Linked DNA regions of Homo sapiens: region 1 is linked to region 2. Evidence: promoter capture Hi-C in human tissues and cell types (Jung and others, 2019). All regions are on one chromosome and are shown on one strand. Each heading gives the region's core, a stretch centred on a gene start or on the middle of the fragment in contact. The rest is flanking DNA. Distances are from core to core; before and after follow the strand shown. Region 1 overlaps PLS1 (plastin 1). Region 2 holds the start of PLS1 (plastin 1).

Evidence for each region. The method cuts DNA at HindIII sites, captures the fragments that hold promoters and counts their contacts. A contact is called where the count stands out against the background at its distance.
Region 1: a contact is called between a fragment that was not itself captured here and the fragment with the promoter of PLS1 in region 2, in 4 of the 25 tissues and cell types used here (bladder, hippocampus, liver and 1 more).

The regions. Positions count from the first base shown.
Region 1 is chr3:142,697,783-142,701,548 of GRCh38, forward strand. PLS1 (plastin 1) reads left to right here. Exons shown (of 16, transcript NM_001145319.2): 12 at 171-285. Among named protein-coding and RNA genes, the nearest start is that of TRPC1, 24 kb to the right of the region's middle. The HindIII fragment of the contact is 4,919 bases long and covers 1-3,766 here.
Region 2 is chr3:142,594,664-142,598,691 of GRCh38, forward strand. It overlaps PLS1 (plastin 1), which reads left to right and starts at 1,730. Exons shown (of 16, transcript NM_001145319.2): 1 at 1,730-1,846. PLS1-AS1 (PLS1 antisense RNA 1) reads right to left here. Exons shown (of 4, transcript XR_001740938.2): 4 at 1,246-2,634. RefSeq lists an enhancer at 1,786-2,025. The HindIII fragment of the contact is 14,749 bases long and covers 1-4,028 here.

The sequences.
Region 1 (3,766 bases), core at 318-2,817, 100 kb after region 2:
GGACAGATTCTTAGACTGGAAGTTCTGGGTCAAATGATATGTCCTGTCATTCTTTAAGAATTAAATGACTTATGTTCTTAAAGATATAAGTCTATCTCCAGTGTACTTAATAAAATTAGGTAATACCCAACATTTCCTCCTCCTTTATCTGCTTTTCCTTCCTGCTTCAGTGACCTTGCAGATGCTTTAGTGATCTTTCAGCTCTATGAGATGATCCGAGTGCCAGTCAACTGGAGCCATGTCAACAAACCTCCTTATCCTGCCCTTGGAGGGAACATGAAGAAGGTGAATGAAATAATGGCCATGGATATATTGTTATTGTTCTGATATGAAACAAAGAATTTAGAGTTTCATGAAGTTATACGTGCTCTGTCCCCACAATTCTGATTCAGACCAAAATGTGTTAAGCTTAATAGCCTTTTTACAAGTTTGCTTTAATAAATTTGAAGATGAAGGCAATCCCTCTAGTCAGACACTTTATATAACTATTTTCATCTTTATCAAGTCATAGTACTTAATGTTCTTTGAGATGTCCTGTAAATGTATTCTTTTTTTACAATTGGTATAACGTTCTGAATGTTTATTGGTTATCCACTCATTTATTCAACAGATATTTATCAATTACCTAATACCTATACAGTGTTATGCAGGATGTAAAAAAAAAAAAAAAGTATAAAGCATGGAGTTGGTCCTCAGGAAAGCCTAAATAAATTAGGGAAATATGTGTGCAAACAACTACAATATGGTACATGGTAAACAAAAGTGAATATTATGAGTTCTAGGGAAGAAAGTTGAAGAGCTACTGAAATAGTAATAGCAAAATGGGAAAGACACATGAATGAACAATTCATAGAAAAATAATGATGAATAATAGAAATATGAAAAACTTTTCACCCAGAATAAAGAAATGCAATTTAAAACAAGAAACTATTGAACTGCATCCAATGTAAGAGGAAGTATTCATTTGTATAATCCTTCTAAAACCAGTTTGTCAATACATATTAATCTTCCAAAAAATCTTTTGACCTAATTTCACCTTTTTCCACCTATCCTGATGAAAAAATCAGAAAGACACAAAGTTGGGTGGCAAAATGCTAATCATAGCAATGTTTATACAGCACACAAGAAAACAACCTAGTTGTTCAGTAAAGGGTTAATAAAATTGATACACCCATAAGATGAAGTAAAATGTGCCATTAAAAATAGTGTTTGACAGGAACAGAAAACCAAACACTGCATGTTCTCACTCATAAGTGGGAGTTGAACAATGAGGACACATGGACACAGGGAGGGGAACATCACATACCTGGACCTGTCAGGGGTTGGGGGGCAAGGGGAGGGAGAGTATTAGGACAAATACCTAATGCATGCAGGGCTTAAAACCTAGATGATGGGGGCCAGGTGCAGTGGCTCACACCTGTAATCCCAGCATTTTGGGAGGCTAAGGCAGGTGGATCATGAGGTCAGGAATTCGAGGCCAGGCTGGCCAACATAGTGAAAGCCCATCTCTACTAAAAATACAAAAAATTAGCCAGGCGTAGTGGTGGGTGCCTGTAATCCCAGCTACTCGGGAGGCTGAGGCAGGAGAATGGCTTGAACCCGGGAGGCAGAGTTTGCAGTGAGCCGAGATGTGCCATTGCACTCCAGCCTGGGTGAGAAAGCAAAACTCTGTCTCAAAAAACAAAACAAAACAAAACAAAAACCTAGATGATGGGTTGATGGGTGCAGAAAACCACCATGACACATGTATACCTATGTTAACTATCCTGCATGTTCTGCACATGTATACCAGAACTTAAAGTATAATCAAACAAACAAAAAATAGTGTTTTAGTAATAGTGGTATGGAAATGAGCAGGACACAAAATTATATATATACATAATATGAATCTAATTTGTTCAAAATACATAACACATACAGAGATGTATTCAAAAGGGACTTTTAGTTTTCCACATCTATAGAATGAAAATGTATTTATAGACACTAATTTTAAAGAAAAAAATTTTAAAAGACTTTTAAAGGGAAATACATCATAATATTAAAGTAGTTAAATGGGTGGTATAATTATAAAGAGTTACTCGTATGTTTCAGCATTTCTAGTCATTGGACTGCCTGCATTTTTAATTTCATTTGATTTGCATATAATTCTTTTCATGGGAGTAGAATTCAGAAAATTTATTGACTAATTTCATGTAAGTTTTTTCTCCAAAATTTTGAATGCAAAATGTAACAGGAAAACAGAAATTAACCATTCATTATACCTGGAATTTTAATGTGAACTACAAATAAATACATATGTCACAAATGAATCATATGCAGAATACTTTTTCAACAAATACAGAATGAAACATAAAGCCTGAAATAAATTCAAGATGTTTAAAAAATGAAGAAGCAGTACTTTCATGACACAGTATCACAGGGAATTATTTTATGGAATTTGGGCAATAATCAATACATGTCACTTTCCTTCGCTTACAAAGTTCTTAAAGCTGCACCATTAAAATAGCCTTTCTTCTTCATTATTATTATTATTATTTTATTTATTTATTTATTTATTTGAGATGGAGTCTCGCTCTGTTGCCCAGGCTGGAGTGCAGTGGCATGATCTCGGCTAACTGCAAGCTCTGCCTCCCAGGTTCATGCCATTCTCCTGCCTCAGCCTCCTAAGTAGCTGGGACTACAGGCGCCCGCCACCACGCTCGGCTAATTTTTTTGTATTTTTAGTACAGACGGGGTTTCACCGTGTTAGCCAGGATGGTCTTGTCTCCTGACCTCGTGATCCACCCGCCTTGGCCTCCGAAAGTGCTGGGATTACAGGCGTGAGCCACTGTGCCCGGCCTTCTTTACTTTTAAGTATTTCTTTTCACTTGAACCCTTGTGTCCCATTATGTAACTCTTCTCATTGTCTAAATGATCTAAGCTTCATTTTTGTCCAAAGCATTTAAAGTACTTGGTAATTGATATGGTTTGGCTGTGTCCCCACCCAAATCTCATCTTGAATTGTACTCCCATATTCCCATGTGTTGTGGGAGGGACCCAGTGGGAGATAATTTGAATCATGGGGGCAGTTCCCCCATACTGTTCTCATTGTAGTGAATAAGACTTAAGAGATCTGATGGTTTTATCAGGGGTTTCCGCTTTTGCATCTTCCTCATTTTCTCTTGCTGCCACCATGTAAATAGTGCCTTTTGCTTCCTGCCATGATTCTATGGCCTTCCCAGCCATGTGGAACTATAAGTCCAATTAAACCTCTTTTTCTTCCCAGTCTTGGATATGTCTTTATCAGCAGTGTGAAAACAGACTAATACAGTAATCATTTCTTCCATTAACTCTGTGAGACTGCACTCCAAGTTTTTCTTGCTTTCTTTGTGCTCATTCTTACCTTGCATAGGTTCTTCATCTTTTAGCCTGAGAACTCAGTATTTCCAAGGCCTGGTTCTTGGGCCAAAGGTCTTAACTTTTATATTTACACCCTCAGGGAGCAGATCTGTTTTTAGTGTTTTAATTGCAGGTTGAGTATCCCTTATCCAAAATGCTTGGGACCAGACATATTTCAGATATTGGAATATTTGCAGTATACTGGTTGAGCATCCTTAAGCTGAAAATCTGAAATGCTCCAGTTAGCTTTTCTTTTGAGTATTGTGTTGGTGCTCAAAAAGTTTTAGAGTTTGGAGTATTTTGGATTTTTGGATTTTCAGATTAGGGATGCTCAACCTGTACTACCATACACATGGATTACCTCTAGGAACCTAATTTCTCATTCTTT
Region 2 (4,028 bases), core at 480-2,979:
CTCATGAACCTGCCCTGGTCAATATTACCACGAAAAAAAAACAGATCATAAGAGTATTTCATGAAAAAGTGTTCTCTTATCAAACTTATTGGTGAATAATTTACACACATTTTTCATGTTTAAAGTGTACAACTTAGCGATGACAGTTGTATACACCTGTGAACTTGTCACTACCATCAAAACAGAGAAAATTTCCATCGTCCCCCTCCAAAAATATTTTTTCTGCTCATTTGCAGTTTATCCTTCCCTCCACTCCTGGCTCCAGGCAATTACTAATCTGGGTTTTGTCATTATAGGTTAGTTTGTACTTCATATAAGTGGGATTATACAATATGTTTTGTCTCTAGCTTCTTCAACTCAGCATACCGATTTTGAGAGTTATCCATATTGAGTCCTGTGTGAGAGTATTTCTTCTTTTTTATTGTTGAGTAGTATTGCATTGTATAAATATACCACAATTTGTTTTTTCATTTACATGTTGTTGGACAGTTGGGTTCCTTCTGGTTTGGGGCTTTTGTGAAAAACAGCTGCTATGAGCATTCCTGTTCAAGTTTTTGTGTAAGCATATGTTTTAATTTCTCTTGGATAACATCTAGGAATGAAATGGCTGGGTCATATGTTAGATGTATGTTTACCTTTTAAGGAAATATTTTGCTTTATTTTGTGAGAACTTACTTAACTCCCCTTGCATATCTAGATAAATAAGTATCAGATAAGGATACTAAATTTACCAGATTCTCTAGGTGGCAGGTGGGAAAAATCAGATAAGAATACTAAATTCACCTGATTCTCTAGGTGGCAGGTGGGAAAAATTCCTTATCTTCCCTCTCCATGGCCCACCTACTTTCATAGTTCATTGCTCGTCCAATTTGTTTGAGTTCTTAAAATAATTTCAACTTCCCCCCTTTATTTTTTCTATTGTTACCATCTCAGGGTTGGTTGGGTGCCTATTCTGTATTGGATATTGTGTTAGGCGCAGAAGGGGCACGTGGGACTTTGAGTTAAAGGGGCAGCAAAACCTTGTTCTGTTCTCTGGACTGAGTTGGACAGACCACAACTACGGATTATGCTTCAGGCAAAGTATGTGAGAACTCTTGAGGCAGCATTCCATTTACCTGACTCACATGCGAGAGAAAATATCCCACTTTTGTTTGAGTGTGGGCTTTAGTTATATATTTATTTTAATCAGGTGTGGCTGTTAAAGGAAAAGGAAGCAATCCGTGAAACAAACGGAAAAAAAAAGAGTAGGGGAGAGAAACAAGTCTTCCTTTAATAACGTATACCTTTCCTTTTGACCAGCAGGTCCCAAAGTGTGGTACCCAGACTAGTAGCACCAGTTTTCGCTGAGAACATGTTAGAAATGGGAACTGTCGCGCTACGCTCCAGACCTAACTGAATCGGAAACTCAGTTTCCGGGTTTGGGATCTGTGATTTAAAAAGCTCTCCAGGTGATTCTGATCCACGCTCAAGTTTGAGAACTGCTGTGCTAAACTCATTCCCAGGGTGTAGGTGGTCATCTTTAGACTTGGGTAACTGTGGGCGGTAGAGATAACGTTGCCGCAGCGCCCGTCCACCTCTCCCCATCCACGCTCCCAGCGCCTGCAACTCCTCTTTCACCCTTAGCCTAAACCCAGGTTCTGGGCTTCCCTTTCCCTCCCCTGGGAGCCGCAGGCAAAACGCGGCAAGTGGATTCAGAGTTTGCGGGCCCGGGTGCCGGCCGAGCATGCGCAGTGGCGCGAGCGCAGCGGCTACGCGGGCGCGGAGAGGTAGCCGCAGAGTGGACCTGCAGGTACTTGGATCTCCAGTGGGAGCTGCCCTCTCGAAGGCAGGACAGCGGTGGCGGCAGGTACGCGGGGGTGGGGATAGGGCCCAAAAGGAAGGCTGGACAGACAGATGGAAAGCGAAGCGTTACTCCTTTGGGGGCGCGCGGCGGCTCGGGGGCAGTATCTCCGGGTCCCCTCGCTCGCGTCTCGTCTCCTGGCTGTGCAGTGTGGCGCCCGCCGTCCTCTGGGCACGCTTCTGCCCAGTCCCGGCAGGCAGTGCCCGCAGGTGTTAAATCGCGTATTTACACTGCTTAAACAATAAGCCTGTTAACTGAATTGTGATTCTATGCAATGAAATAAGGTATTTCATTAAGTTTTCTTCTTTCAACTTTGGGTGGCTGCCGGTGAGGCTTTCTGAACCAGCCTGTTTTGTTTTAATTCTGGGACTGGTTTATTTGCCTTTGGCCTTTTGGTGCATAGGATCAATAGGGCTGTAGTGAAATCCCATCCGTGCTGTTTTTGGTACCTTTCCTGGAGCATAGGGACCTCTGGATGCGGCATAAAAATGTCAGTTTTCAGCGAATTTCACTGCCAAAAAACTTTCCGTGTTTCAGCTGCATTTTCAAGTGGAGACTTAAAAAAATTTAAGATTTCTCCCTAACTTTTCAATTATTACTGTATTTCGGTCTTCATTTGGTACTATTAAAAGGAAGCGGTCGTTTAGATGAGTAACAGAATTCTCACTTTTCCTCCTTTACTTACTTACTATGTCACATTTTATGGCTTATACCGTGATATCTTTCCCTCCAGCCACGGTGTTGGATACACTTGTATGAGGCTTCAGCTGTGCTGCATAAATTTCTTGAAGAACCTGTGAGCCAGAAGCAAAATTTCAGGACAGGGGGCACACACTGAACTTGAAGCAAGTACTTTTACACCCCCCACCACCTTTGTAATCAGCTTTCCTTTAAGTTGAATTATGTAATGAAATTCTATAGTAAAGTGTTAATGTGTAATGTGGAGGCATATATATATATAGAGAGAGAGGTAGTAAGTTTAGGAAGAGGAAATTTTAAGTTCAGGAAGAGAAACCTATATGGAAAGGGAATACAGGTATCCTGCCCCCCTTCATTCCTCCCATGATAAATGTTTTAATGGCAGAAATAATATACAGCTGGTCTAGTTTTGGCTGTAGAGACCTTTGAGGTCAGCCAGTTCAGCTGCTTCAGTTTACAAATGAGAAAACTGAGACCAGCGAGGTTAGATGACTTGCTGTGGCCACCCAAGCCCCTCATTGGCAAAGCTAGGCCTGGGATCCAGGTTTTCTCATTTTCTGGGGTCTTTTTACCACTCCCTGCAGATACTCTTCTTTACCTCCATTATTAAACTTCCTTTTTCTCTTCTACTTATACCATGAAGTCTGGCTTAAGCAGAAAATTAGTTGTTTCTCTTACTAAGCTTCCTAGTACCTCATAAATTCCTTTCAAAAAGTGCCCTTTCACTGAAGCCCCACCTAACAATTTGCTGGTCCTGAAAACGCCCTCCTTCCTTCCCTCAGTCACCTGGGCCCTTTGCCCAAAATGCCTGTTTGCCTCCCTCTTTCCGTATTGAAGTCCTGCTCATGCTGCAAGGTGTAGCTCAGGTGTGACCTCTTTTTGGAAGCCTTCCTTGATTGCCTTAGCATGAAGTAGCTCTCCCTCTTCTGAACCCTATAGCACTTACTACTGTTGTTTGTGCTGTTAGTATCCCCATTGTATATAGTATCCTGAGTATTTTAGCACCTCCCAACTTCCCGACCAGGAAGTTGGCAGGTTGTGTAAGCTCTTGGAGGTTAAAGCCTATGACTTAAACATCCCACCCAGCACTAAGCACAAAGTATATTCTTAGCCCCTGTTTGTGGGAGGGAGTGGGGGAAGGAAGTGCAGTATGTATAGTTTTGTAAAGAGATTTCATGTGTGTTCTATAATATGGGGAAGGCCATGTTAGAGCTGTATCAAGACAGCAGCCAAGTCCATTTCTGATTCCTCATATTTTGATAACAGATCACAGATTAGTTAGGGGGATTACAGGAGACAGGCGTAAAAACACGGGTCAGTTGGTCCAGGCCCTGGATTAAGCCTGTGACTCAAAGTGGAGAAAAGAGGGCACAGAATTAAGAAATGTAAAGGAAGAAGCATGTGGTGAAAGACTAAATGCAGAGAAGGAAAGACATGTTGAAAATGAATTTCAGGGTTGGGGTGTTAGTAATGGGTTTATAATGTTCTT